Regions from separate parts of the Homo sapiens genome. Here region 2 is linked to region 1. Evidence: promoter capture Hi-C in 16 types of primary human blood cells and fetal thymus (Javierre and others, 2016). All regions are on one chromosome and are shown on one strand. The core of a region is centred on a gene start or on the middle of the fragment in contact, and the rest is flanking DNA. Distances in the headings are between cores, read along the strand shown. Region 1 holds the start of GRIK1-AS2 (GRIK1 antisense RNA 2). Region 2 overlaps GRIK1 (glutamate ionotropic receptor kainate type subunit 1).

Region 1 (7,586 bases), core at 464-2,963:
TCTCATGATTCATGTGTGCTGGAGACAGAGGTACAGTTAAGAAGATGCCTGGACATTTGACATTTCAGTACTGTTCTACGAACTAGGAGGAGTGCCTCCAGGGAGCGGAACCTCAGTTTTCAAGCTTCACAGTGAAAGCAGACAGTAGTCATTTACCAGTGAGAAGTAGTGGAGGGTGGATCAGTTACTTGTGGGGAGGAGCACTCAATATCTAAATTACCTGGCCCTGATTTCTTTCACTTTGTAAGCTGGCACAAGGGAGCAGCCATGTGTTATCTAGGACAACTGAGAAAAGCATTTGAAAATGAGTGCCCAAATGACATTAAGCAAACTTTTTTTAAAAAGCGATGCAATAAAAAGGGTATTCAGAGAGCCACTAGTATCTATCTTCTAAACCTAGACAGTGATTCATGTAAACTCAACATCTAAAGTGGCTGAGGGAAATAATCAGGTATCTAGGGCAAAGATAAAGGTATATGTGTTTCCTGTATTACGAACCTTATATAACAAATATTTTAGTGAGGGATGTTGTAAAGATTGCTACCTTCCTCTTTTGGAAAGAATTTTGGGTGAATAATACTATTCTAAAATAAGTCAGAGTACGAGGAAAGCTTTTGGGATTTCAATATGATGAAGGTGAATTTTTGTTTAAGTTGGAGACTTCTGGAAAAAGTGCAATGTGTTTGTTGGGTCTGAGTGGGTCGCCTGTGCTAGAACTCAGGTTACCGTGAATTTTTGACGGAGTTATAACACAAAACAGCACACCACAGTATATACAACTTACAATGTGGAACATGATGGGCTACCAGGAGGGAAGAGGCATGAAGGCATGGAGGATCAAGATCAGAAAGTTACAACCCTCGGGAGTGTGTGTGGCTCTTGCAGTTTAGTGACAAATAGAGGACATCCCCCCTCCCCTTTATATAATTTCAAAGCTTGGATTCCATTCCCTGGGACATTTGTATTAGATTAATTCAAAGTGCCCAGAGTCTCAAGATGGATTAGTGTAATAGGTTTTTTTTTTTTTTTTTCTTTTTCTGGGTGCCGGTTAGGTTCATCTATTTACCAGTAAAATTTTAGTGAGGAAACCAGATCGCCTTCTACATGCACTTAGTAGCCTTGTTCACTGAAGATTAAAACAAGGCTTTTAAACCTATGCTTTGAAAACTTAAAAAGAAAAAATTTTTGAATTCATCACTGAGTACTACTAAGAGGGGGACAAGGTTTTTGGCTACAGGGAGAAACTTGTGTACACTTTCTGTGACATAGCTGATAATTTGAAAGATGAAAGTGAACCTGACAAAACTGTTCAAGTTGAACAACCTGAAGCAATTTAAGGTCCATTCATCAGTCCATAGATTTTTTTTACCAAGTAGTTTTAGAGAGAGAGAGACAGAGAGGGAAGGAAGGAGAGGAGGAAGAGAAAGAGAGAGAAGAGATGAAAGAAAATGTTTGCTTACCACGGGGACATTTCTCTGATCCAAATGTTTTTAATGTCTCATATTTGCTTACATAAATCTATGCACATTCATTGGCAACATGGCACTGTATAATAAACTATAAAATAGTGGGTGTTATAATTCACAAGATAATCTCATTTCCTTTCCAAGGTCCCTAACGTTTGTGTCCTCTTTAGAACTGTGGCTCTAAAACAAATTGCAAGACAGTATACTCTGATGAAGATATCACACAAAACAAAAGATAGCTCATGAGAAAAGGAAATTTCTGAAAATGGTTCATATTTTGTGGTGGTGACATTACAGGAGGTGTCCTAGCCTTCTGAGGCTGTAGCCTATCTGACTAGTCTCATGGATCAAATCTATTGTGATTTTTATCCCCCTTAAGGAAAATATTTAGTGATTTGAGAAGGAATATAAATAGGTCAGTGTCTCCTTCTGTTACAGTTGCCTGCTTTCAATCCTAACAAGGACTGATCCTGCCTGGGAGAAACAAAAATAATCTTGGGGGAAATATTTAATCCATAATTATTTAATCCACTGCAAACCTGTTTTCAATTCACAGGTGATGTTGTTGAGAGAGATAACATATTCAATCACTCCTCTCTCTTTACATGGAACTTCCCTTCTAAACTGCAATTGGAGAGCTACAGGTCTGGTAACATTGGAAGGGCACAGGCCTTTCCAATGACATTCCCCATCCCACCCCCAGGTTTCCTGCAGTTGTTGTCAGAGTACAAACCTTCTTCCACACTTTATACAAGTGTTTAGACACTTCGCCAGCAGCCTTGGTTTTCAGAGAGAAAAATAAAATAAAAACAGCACTTAATTAAAATGGAGCGTGAAACCCAGAAGGAATCATGGTGTGTGAGTGCTTAGAGTGTTACAGTTCCCACCCATTGTTTGGAATTTGCATCTTAATTCAATATAAAGCCTGACAATAGGTACAGCAAAGAGACGAATCAAGACTTGGGTCTCACAGAAGTTACCTGGTGGTAAGACTCAATTTTTACTTTTCCTTTCACACACCAAGAAATGCCTTAAAGTGCTTTTCAATGTATACAGGTATGCTGCAGTATTAAGGGTCTTCATTGTTCCTTAAGAAGACCCTTTTAAGGCATTGGTAACTAAAATCAATCAATTAACCAACCAACCAGCAAATCAATCAATACACACACACACACACAAACACACACACACACAGACACACACATATAAAGAAGAAGTATGCTTGATGACTTGTTCTTTGATTATGGGTTTCTGGGCAGTAGAAATTTGAGTGAAAGTGAGAATGGGATTTTTCTAATAATTTTCCCTATTGACTCCAAGAGAGGCTGACATAAAAAGATTGGGCATTTCCTCCCTCGGCTCCTGAGAGAGATGTGTTGGCTTCCCTCATTGCCTTAAGGCCCAATCAGCCTTCTCAGGAATTGAGCCCAAGACACCTGAAGAAAGAAAAGTTATTGCAAACAATGAAGAGATAAGAAACCAACACAAAACACTTTCATCTAATTTGATTTTGCCTTTGATGGAAAAACACCAATGCAATGTGCATAATATTACGGTGTATAGATAGCTGTGAAAGCATAACAATAGCTCCATCTATTTCATCATTCACCTAGCCAAAAAGATGTTTCCTTAACAGCTTTTCTTCCCCCTTCAGTGCTATACATAAGAGGAGAACAGAGTTGGGGAAAGACTCATGCTTCGAGAAGCAGACATTTTCTTAAAAAAATTATAGGCTTTTAGATCATAACAAGTATTTTTTTTCTTTTGTTCCCTCCAGCCAACATCCCATGCACCATCGTGGAGACTGGCTGGATGCCCTGTGCTCTATCAGGGCATGTCAGACCAACAGAGGGGCAAATCAGAGTGAAGAGGAAGCCAGAAGATGGGAGAGACATTTTTGAAGTGAGTAACCTGCATGTATAATGTGTACTCTCAAAACTGCAAACAAATTATTTTCCTCAAATATTTCACACTGGTGGTCACCTTCTAATACATTCAGCCTAAATGATCTTTGTTTCCATTAATGTTTTTTTGAGGGGGAGGGGTAGTTAGCACCTGCAAAAAAAATGTGTCCTGGTTAACAAAAGCAAGAAAACGGAAATGAAAACCTTACCTCATTTTAAAAAATCAACCCAACTAATCTAATTAATCAAGCAATCGATTGTTCCCAAAGCCACTCTTACATTAAGCACACTGTCTTATTCACTATAGTGGGAAAAAAAATGTCAGATTATAGAGTTTTCTGTTGAGGTGATTGCTTTGGGGGTTTCAATTGTTTTTCTATAAGATTGTCAGTGCAAAATCTTCAAACTGTAAGTGTTAATTCTGACGTATAGTCATGAATATTAAAATTGGCATAGTAAAATATATTGAGGAGCCAAATTCTTTTATCATTATTATTTAACCAAATAGTTTACATTGGAATTACTCTAAATAATAACTAAAGTAGAACTTTAAACATGGAGAGATTCAGAATTACAACTAAAATAATCCTAAAATGAGAACCCAACATTAAAATACAGTTTTTTGGCATTTGTCCTAAAATTAAGAATGCAAAGTTAATTTGCTCCAGTAAGTCTCTTCTATCCTACTTTATTCTGTCTGTCACCAATCTCAAAATGGAATAAAATGTGCAATTAAAATTAATTTCTGGGTAACCCTTGGATGCCATTCCATCGATAAACCATTGATAGCTTCTGCTTTTCCAAGTCTAAACTCAATTTGTTAAAAGCTTTAAGACATGGGCCTAATGACACCCAACTCTAGGGTTATATATGTAATAATATAATCACACTTGCTATGTAAATGAAGCACAATAGAAACACTAGTTAGTACTGCTATTACTAAGACATGAAATTTAAGAATCTAGCACATCAACTTCTATCTGCAGAAAAAAGAAAGAGAGATAAAAAACTGGATGTAAAAGAACATGCTTAGAGAATCACTTCATCATTCACCTACTTGTCTTTGCAATTTAGTAAAAATGCCTGAACAATGTTCATTTGTTATTTTATTTATTTATTGTTAAGGAGGTTACCTTTTCAGTTCCTTCCTCTTTGAGACTAATAATGTCCAGATCAAAATCCTTCCTCAAGCCATTGGTTTTATTAAAGGTGATATGCCCAGTCAAGCCATCCCACCGGGCCTGTGGACAAGAAGAAATGTGGCTGTTATTGTTAAACATTTATCATAATTCCTGAGACCATCAAAATTATAATACCTCAAATTCATCACAGTATCCAATTATTTGTTTTCATCATGCTGTTATAAACCATTGCATTGGTTCAGCGACAAGATAGCAGAACACATCGTCTTTTTATTAGCACTCATTTATTCTGTCAATTCTAACATCCTAACCCAGTCAAACCTGTCATCGTGGCTACCTAAATGGACAGTATGGAAAGAATTGCCGTAAAACAGTCTGCACACGGAATACACAAAATCTGAGAAATCACAATATTCTGTTTTCCAAGGTCAATCCAAATTCCCTTTGAGATATGGCTGAGTGGAAGTGAGTCCCTGCTTTTTCTTTCTCTGTGAAAAGAATATAGACTAATATAGTCCAATGATGTATTGCAGTTTTTAGGCTGTTTATGACTTAGCGTGTTTGCACCATTTGGGCATTATAATTTCCCGTGGCTGCTGTAGCAAGTAATCACAAACGTGGGTGCTCAAAACAACAGAAATTTATTTTCTCAAGGTTATGGAGGCCTGAAATCCAAAATCAGTGTTAACTGGGTGGAATTAATGTGTCAGCGGGACCGTGCTCTCTCTGGAGGCTCGAGGGAAGACCCTATTCTTTGCCTCCTTCTGCTTCTGGTGGCTTCTGGCATTTCTCCTTCTCTTGTGGTTGCATCACTCCAATCTCTGCCTCAGTGGTCACATTTCCTCCTCCCCTGCTGTCTGCATAAAAGCTCCCTCTGCAAGGTGGAGGTTGTGGTGAGCCGAGATCCTTCCACTGCGCTCCAGGAGCCTGGGCAACAGAGCAAGACTCTGTCACAAACAAACAAACAAACAAACAAAAAGGGTCGGGCGCAGTGGCTTGCGCCTGTAATCCCAGCACTTCGGGATGCCGAGGTGGGCGGAGATCGAGACCATCCTGGCTAACACGGTGAAACCCCATCTCTACTAAAAATACAAAATATTAGCCAGGCGTGGTGGCGCATGCTTGTAATCCCAGCTACTCGGGAGGCTGAGTCAGGAGAATCGCTTGAACCCCAGAGGCAGAGGTTGCAGTGAGCCGAGATTATGCCATTGCACTCCAGCCTGGCGACAGAGCAAGACTCCGTCTAAAACAAAAACAAAAACAAAAAAACTCCTTCTGCTTCTGTCTTATAAAGACACTTGTGATTGTAAATACAATCTAAATAGAACTCACCTGGATAATTTCCCCATCTCAAAAATCCTTAATCACCTATGCAAAGGCCTTTTTGCTATATAAATTAACATTTACAGGTTCCAGGGATGAGGACATGGGTAACTTTTGAGGGTGCCGGTCTTCTTCCTACCCTACATATCAACATCATTTCAAATAACAAAAAATTCACAATAGTCTGCCTTTCACAGAACTCACATTGGGTATCTCTGGTGGTTTTATTAAATAAAAAGCGGTGGCCCTTGGGAGAGTCTTCAGCTTCAATCATTAGGTGATTTTTGGCAACCTTGTTGATTTGAGTTTCACTTACAAATAGGGATAAAGGAAAACTCAGATCTTTGTATCCACTTAGCTGTTTTTCTCCCTCTTGACTTTACCAAATTCATTAGACATGCATAAAATGGGAAGATTCTGAAGAATTACACTGTATTTGCAGTTATTTGCGCCACGTATATATGTTGAATGTATTTACCCATTTGGCCAAGAGGCAGAGCAATGCAGTGAATTTTCCATACCTCTAGGGCTGAATATCTGCAGTGTAACTTCAGGCAAGCTACTGAACTTGAGGCGTTTTAATTTTTAACATTTATTGTTTTTATAACTGTCTCTCACTTTTCCCACTTTCATAATTCTAGAGTTTGGCTATTACTATCTCACGTTTAGCCTTTACTTGGCTGTGCTGTATTTCATTTTACAAATCACGACCAGATTCACGGTCCCCAAGTAAATTTTCGTATTTATGCAATTTTCACCAGCACATAAAGTACATAATGGATTCATTCTACCTACAAATTAGTCTAAACCTTGACTTTACGTTGGAGGTTGTGATGGTTAATTTTGTGTGTCAACTTGCCTAGGCCACACGATGCCCAAATATCTAGTCAAACATTATTTCTGGGTGTGTCTGTGAGGGTGTTTCCAAAAAAGATTAGCATTTGAAATGGTGGACTGAGCAAGGCAGACAGCCCTCTCCACGTGAGTGGGTACCATTCAATTCATGTAGAGCCTGAAAAGAACAAAAAGGCAGAGGAAGAGAGCATTTACTCTCTGCCTGACTGACAGCTGAAACAGCGGCCTTCACCTGTTCTTGAGAACAGGAGATTACATCATCGATGCTCTTCGTTCTCAGGCCTTTAGACTCAGACTAGACTTACACCAGCCAGCTTTCCAGGGTCTCTAGTTTGCAGATGGTAGAATGTGGGACTTCTCAGCCTCCATGTTGGTGTGCCAATTTCTCATAGTAAACCTCTTTGTATATATATCCTATTGTTCTGTTTCTCTGGAGAATTCTGGATAATACAGAGGTCTTTGAAAATTTTGCCTAAGCTACGTCTCCAGAATTTCCTACCACCGCTCCCCTATGCACAGCCCCAGCTGGAACAGGCCTGGGCTCTCCAGCCTCTGTGCTATTCATCCCAGCCTGCAGCCTCCACTCAGCCTCTCCATCTCCTATCCAGCCTTCAAGATTGGCTTATTGTGCTATTTTGGTCCACAGTCACTATTCTCCTCTTTGAGGCACAGGCCTCCCAGCTTATACACCCCTCTGACCAGTATTGCTTGTGTTTTCACATGTGATTTTGTACTTATTACCACTTACCTTTACACTTTCAGTTTGGAAATCCTTATATCCTCAATTGGATTGGAAGCTTGTCAGTCAAACCTAATTATCTTACTAAATTGTGTTCTCTTTAGTATTTAACAAAATGGCATAGCCCTTAGGCACTTTAATTTTTTTCTCGCTCTAA
Region 2 (7,061 bases), core at 4,521-7,020, 260 kb after region 1:
GCCAGGAGCAGTGGCTCATGCCTGCAATCCCAGCACTTTGGGAGGCCCAGGCGGGTGGATCACTAAGTCAGGAGTTCGAGACCATCCTGGCCAACATGGTGAAACTTCCGTCTCTACTAAAAATACAAAAATTAGCTGGGCGTGGTAGTGCGAACCTGTCAGCCAAGCTACTTAGCAGCTGAGGCAGGAGAATCCCTTGAACCTGGGAGGTGGAGGGTGCAGTGAGCCAAGATTGGGCCATTGCACTCCAGCAACAGGGTGAGACTCTGTCTCAAAAAACAAACAAACAAACAAAAACACGAAACTATTTTTTCTCTGCATAATCTTCTCACATTTCTATTTCTGGGCTCTGCATCTTTGTTGCAATGGCTGGTTGTCTCTTTACTACATCAAGTCAAACATCTTTGAAACAATTATCATTGCATTCTCTGTATCCTCAGCTGGACTTCCACTTTTCCATTGGTTGCATCGGGATGCTGGATCATGCTTTCAAGAACACACCTAATCATTCTCAACAGTATTGCTGTGATACTGCCTAATTACTTTGTTTTGTTTATTCAGGTTGCAACACTATTGTTTCTCTCTTTCTCTCTCTCTCTCCCTCTCTCTCTCTCTCACACACACACATGCACATGTGTATGTGTATACACATAAAATTCACCATTGCTTTACTTAGCCTTAATTAACTAGTAGTAGCATTTATACTCTCTCAGTTACCCAGGGTTAAACGTAAGTTATTATTATTATTATTATTAAAAGTTTTTTTCTAACTTGATCGTCTCAGCCAATTCAAGTCCAATAATCAGACTTTGCCTTGGCAACGACTTTATCTGTACGCTGCTTCTAGTTGCACTTTTACCACCCTAAGACCCTTAATGCCATCAATGTGGATATCTAGAGATGCTAAATTCTCTTTCTGTCCCCGCCAATGTACAATGCATGCTTCTGCTAAATTAGACTATCTGAGCTGGAATGCCAACAGTATCACTGTCTGGCATTAATAATGTCCGTGACTTCCCTTCATGCCCCTAATGAACCAGTAATTTGTCCAAGTTCTCCATTATGTTTTCCAACCTGTGCTTCCGGCCTCATGGCAAACAATTCAATTGCCTAGTGCAATTGAATCCTCCACTCACACCTTGATGCTTATTAGAGTCTAAATCATACACAAACTATCACTTTTGTGTCTAAGCTCGTAACATTGTTTTTATCCAGAAATCCTGCTTTCTACTATCATGCTTGTCAAAATCTTATTCATCCTTCTCAAATGGAAACCTTCTTTGTAAAGATTTGTGGATCCCTGTGGCTAGATGTATTCTCTCTTTCTTCAGTTCTTAATATCATCTACAAGGCTCTATATAGCCTGGCATTTGCATACCGTTTATTACATATACTACAGCTTGCCTTCTTTGGGTTCCTTAAATAGACCAAGTTGTGTGTGTATATATATATATATATATATATATTTTTTTTTTTTTCCACGATCTTCACCTTAGCTGTTTGGTATACGTAAAATGTGTTTTTCCTAGTCCTTAGGATGACTTGATTCTTCTTAAATGTCGTCTCTTATGGAAGTTCATTTATTCCACCCTATTCAAATAGATTTTCGGAACTTTCTCCCATGCCAAATGTTTCTTTATCATAACACTCTGTCATTTCCCAAACTGACTCTGTGAAGGCAGAACAGAACCCAAATCTGTTTTGTTAACCAAGGTCTACAAACACACATAGTATAGTTCCTGGCATATAATAGTTGCCAAAATATTTATTAAATGAATAAATGAATGATTAAGCATATTGTTTATACTTTTTCTTTTCATGTCCCAGACTGTATTGTACTTCCTAATATTTTTCTTGTATTTTATTAGGTTTTAAAACCTTTGAAGTAAAAATAAAACATTTTGCATTGTTCATCTTGGTATCCCTTAGCTTCTAGTATGGTGCCAAACATTCATGAGATTAATAAATGTTTGCTGAATTAAATCGATTTGAATTAAACCTTCAGAACAATATTAAGTTATTGCCAGGACATCACAGATGGTAAGTGCAATTTCCTCTGCTAATAGCTTCCAAGGTTGATGATGAGATAAAATCAGTCGAGCATCCATCAATAGGGGAAAAGCTCTTAAAAACTAAATCCTCTAAGTCATTGTAGTGTTGCCTCCTTTGTTATACTTTGTTTCCTGCGCCCATCCTTCCTTAGAGCGTCAGACACAGTTCTTATGTACTACTTCATTAAGGATAAGTGTAGAGTGATGTCAGGAAGGAGGAAAGGCCAATAAAAGGCCGTTTGTTTTTAGCAATGTTCCTCTTAACCACCAAAGACAATGTGTCCATGTGCTTATCCCCTTCTCTCTGCTTAACTCCTTGACTCCAATTTCTCAGCTTACCTCTAATGAGAGAGTGTGCCTTAAATTCGAGATGAGTGCCGGTAAGGGTTCTTAAAAGCTGGCACATTTCAAGTGCATGGTGAGAAAACTACCCCAGGATTCTGCAGGTGTTAATTATGGTGGAAGCTAGCATAAAGATGCAGAGTGTAGAGCGGCTTGCTGCTCTGATCTTCATGCCCTCTGGTGCCCTCTGGTGCCTCTAAGAGAGAATGACTGAACCCAACAGTGGATGGCCCCTGTTACTGGAGATACTCTCTCTCACCCTCTCATATGTGTGTGGAGTGAGAGAACAAACAGCCCCCATGAAACTCACGTTTTTTAGAGTGCAGAAATCTGTGCAAATCTTAAAATAGCATATGCCCGTGAAGTTTATGTCATCCCTTTTTGGTTCGGTTTCGCTGACTTTCAGAAGGATCATGATATCTTCCTTACTGCATTAACATTTGCTGACAGAAGATCCTTAAAAACTATCTCAAATATTTGTTATCTCTTTTTCATAAACAAAATCATCTTCTCTTTGCCATAAATGGAACATTTATGTAGATCCTGGGTAGCATTTCTTAAATCTCACAGATATGAACATAATTCAGCAGATGTAAATTTTTTTTTGTTAGGACTACAAATTAAGCAGTTTGAAGGGTATTTAAAAAATCTCTATCTTTTCGATGTGTGGCTCTGGGTGTTATCCATTTCTAAGGTGTTCAAGATTAAAGATAATACTGCTATCGCCCTAATGTTCTAACTGCATACACACCCTGTACCCAATCTCAGATATCCTCTCCCCTGGCCACTCCTATTCAAAGCAACAAGGACAACCACCACCACAACAATGAACAAAAAACGAATCCCAGGAATGGATAAGGTGGTCGCAGATGCCACAGGTTATTGATGGAAGTAATTTTGGAGTCCTTGTTTAGTGCTCATAACATCTTGTATTCTTGGCCTCCATCTGGACTCTGCCAGTTCCTTAGTCTTAGCAATGTACCAGGCACATAAATTCTCTTTATTAAGAACCAAAACTACTTTTTTCATTTTATGTAAACTCATAAGTCACATCTTCAGCTCATTTTGAAGTAAGAATCTTCAGTATAACAGGGGAAATAGTATAACTACTACAAGGTAACTAACAAGTAACAATGTTTGTATAAAAGCCAGAGAGTATCTCAGCAGGAAATTTAATATTTTAGAAGAACAGACTTTTAGAGCAAACTTTTACTTACGATATTAACACAAATGAATTCAAGATGCCAATAATATTATTCCTACCTTTTATTACTGTCAGTCTGTACAAACTCTTAGCTTATTTGCTTTACAGATCAGTCTGTGAAAATGAATCAACTAGAAATGATTTCTTTTTTTTTTTTTCTTGAGATGGAGTCTCTCTCTGTTGCCCAGACTGGAGTACAATGGTAAGATCTTGGCTCACTGCAACCTCCGCCTCCCAGGTCCAATCAATTCTCCTGCCTCAGCCTCTTGAGTAGCTGGAACTACAAGCGTGAGCCACCACACCAAGCTAACTTTTGTATTTTTGGTAGAGTCAGGGTTTCACCACGTTGGCCAGGCTGGTCTCGAACTCCTGACCTCAAGTGATCCGCCCACCTCGGCCTCCCAAAGTGCTGGAATTACAGGCATGAGCCACATCCCCCGGCCTAGAAATGATTTTTTTGAGACAAGAGAGTAGCAATCTTTGAGCAACACAGATTGTTTACAAAGGCAATAATAGACAAAAGGGAGATATAAATCAATAAATGTGAACAACATCCTCTTCCCATAACATGGCATCTTCTAGGATCTCACTTTCAGTCTGTTCTTTACCTTTGCTCCCTTTTCTAGCCCTATAATGCAGTGGAAATGCCAGAGTCTGAATGACTTTAGCTTGAGTCCTGGTTCTGACTCCTACCAGCTGTGTGATCACAGTTCCTCTTCTGCAAAACAGAATCTAATAACTAACTTCATGAGCTATGAGGAGATTCATGTACAGCACCTATTCCAGAGCCAGGGCTACTAGTCTACCTCATGGCCTCAACTCTCTTAGCTACTTAAACATTTCCAAGAAGAGCGTCTTTAGCACTGACTTCTCTTCTGAACTGGTGATCTCTAATTGCAACATAAATCTTGATGTCACCCCTTGGACGAAATGTCCTGTCTTCAATACATGTTGTTTAGAATCAAACATATTATCTGTTTCCCCAAATCTGCACTGACTCCTGGTATACTGGTTTCTCTTAAAGACACTACCATTCCGTTCACTTACTTAGATGTGACATATCAGTGCCATCTTTGATCCTTCTCCCTGATTTCTTACCTCTATGGAAAAATTTTCAAGTCTGACTATTTCTCCTTCCACAGTTTCTCACATTTCTTCCCACCCCTCCATTCCCATTGTCAGCACTAAGTTCACAGTTGTCTCTGATGTCAGCCTCAGCTCACATCTCTTTTGTTCTTGAAGGATTTTCCTTAATGCTGCTTTGTCACTTCTTTCTTCCTTCTACCTTGATGCTTGACATTCAAATTATTTAGGAATCTGACCCTACTTAAATAGTTAGTTCTCTCCCACAGAGCACTTTTCACTTTCCTTGCGCTTAAATGCAAATAGTGACTGTTACTATTCACATCTGAGTAACTTGGGCACCTCTACCCACTGTTCCTCCTACCAAGAAGGCCCCCTACCTGTAGAAATTCTATACATTTCCCAAAATTCAGACTAAAATCTATGTACTCTGCAGACTTCCTTCATCCTGCAACTTCCAGCTAAACTTCAATGGCCCCTTATCAGTTCCACTTCCTACCTCCATTCTCTGTACATCTTGTCTCTCTTACTAGACTGGAAGATACTCGAGTGCACTACTGATATTTTCTTCCTAGTGGGCACATTGTAGGCAGTAAATAAATGTGGCCTGAAAGCTGAAGCAAATGAAGGAACAGCCACATAAATATGCAAGTCATTTAGGAAACTTTACATTTATCAAAATGTTTTTCAAGTGGTGAATGCTTTACACAAAGTAAAGTGTTATGTTATTTCATTATGATATAGGAGAATATTTTCTTATGTCAGTTTGAGGAATAATTTTTTCCATCTTGGCACTTGTGTCAAATTACTACATTTCAAAGTTAGATTTGAAATTGCAGTAGGGATATATTTTTATTTTAGTGCTTCTTTAAGTTATAAAGCTTCCCTGATAAATATACCAAATTTATCAATAAACTATGTAGAGTGTCTAGATAAAAACCTTTTGGTAATGTAATTCATTCTGATCTTATATCCCAAAGCTTTAAGATTTGCATAAAATCAACATATCTTCTCACTCTTAAAGTACTATTTTGTGTCATTCTAAAAGTAGTGAAAATATTCTTTTATATAAAAGGAATTGTAGCCTCACTGAACAATTTAAGTAAACCACTTTTCTTCATTCTCTACTGGCAAAATATTTTATGTTATCTTTAACACTCTCACAATTCCAAGAAAGTAACTATGACATTTGTGCCATAATGAAGCTTCCTCTCAAGTAAGTAAAGGCTCAATACTTGAAAGAAAAGTCTTAACATTTACATAGCAGTACAGGGGTTCTCAACCTCAGCACTATTGACATTTTGGTTCTGATTTTTTGTTGTTGTTGACTGTTCCGTACATCGTAGGATATGTGGCAGCACCCTTGGCCAAGAATGACTTCTGATGTGACTAAGAACTAAGTGACTTAGTCCTCCAGCTACCTTTTGAATTCAAAAGTCAATTCTGAAAGTCTGTTTATTAGGAAGCCAAGTATCTCTTAGTACTCAGATATCTCTTGGGGGCAAAATTGCCTCCAGTGGAGAATCATTTCAGTAGTAAAAGTATTTACTAATTCTACTTACTGTGTTTTTATAAATTAATCTCCCCAATCTAGCTTTTTGGAGAAAAATAGGCCAACTATGCTTTCCTCTAGTCAACTGCATATGACTCATGGGAATGTCTGATTTCCTCCATTTATTAGCATATTGATAGCAAACTCTTCAGGAGCATTCACCAAATCAACGTGTATTAAATATCCATTCTGCATTGGGAAAATAGATGAAAGAAACACAGACCAAAACCCCTGCTTTCCTGAAGTTTACATACTAGTGGAAGAAGCAAGACAATAAACAAACATATAAAGGAAACATATAGCATGTCAGAGGGAGATAAGTTTAAGGCAAAAATTAGAAGAACAGTAAAAAGAATAGGTGATGCTGTGTAAGCAGCATGGGTGGGTCACAATTTTAAATAGGATGGCCAGGGTTGTCCTCACTGCCCCCATGACATCTGAGCAAAGGCCTGAAGGAAGTCAGTAGTGAGCGGCCTAGTCCATCTGTGTTGCTATACAGGAATACCTAATGCTGAGTAATTTATATAAGTTTATTTAGCTCACGGTTCTGCAGGCTGTACAAGAAGCATGATGCCTTCTGGTGAGGGTCTCAGGGAGCTTCCACTTGTGGTAGAAGGGGAAGGGGAGCTGCATCACATGGCAAGAGAGGAGGAAAGAGAGAGAGAGAAGCGAGTGGGGCTGCGCTGTTTTAAATAACCAGCTCTCACATAAACTAATAGAGCAAGAATGTACTCTTTGCTTTGGTGATAGCACCAAGCTATTCATGAGATATTTGTTCCCATGACCCAAACACCCCCCCACCAAGCCCCACCTCCAACATTTGGGATCA

Evidence for each region. The method cuts DNA at HindIII sites, captures the fragments that hold promoters and counts their contacts. A CHiCAGO score of 5 or more calls a contact.
Region 2: a contact is called between a fragment that was not itself captured here and the fragment with the promoter of GRIK1-AS2 in region 1, in 4 of 17 cell types (megakaryocytes, M1 macrophages, M0 macrophages and 1 more). The highest score is 8.0, in megakaryocytes.

Annotation. Positions count from the first base shown.
Region 1 is chr21:29,594,327-29,601,912 of GRCh38, forward strand. GRIK1-AS2 (GRIK1 antisense RNA 2) reads left to right here and starts at 1,714. Exons shown (of 3, transcript NR_033368.1): 1 at 1,714-2,452; 2 at 3,244-3,368. GRIK1 (glutamate ionotropic receptor kainate type subunit 1) reads right to left here. Exons shown (of 18, transcript NM_001330994.2): 8 at 4,504-4,611; 9 at 2,200-2,244. The HindIII fragment of the contact is 3,262 bases long and covers 934-4,195 here.
Region 2 is chr21:29,847,315-29,854,375 of GRCh38, forward strand. The region is part of intron 1 of GRIK1 (glutamate ionotropic receptor kainate type subunit 1); the gene reads right to left. Among named protein-coding and RNA genes, the nearest start is that of GRIK1, 89 kb to the right of the region's middle. The HindIII fragment of the contact is 225 bases long and covers 5,659-5,883 here.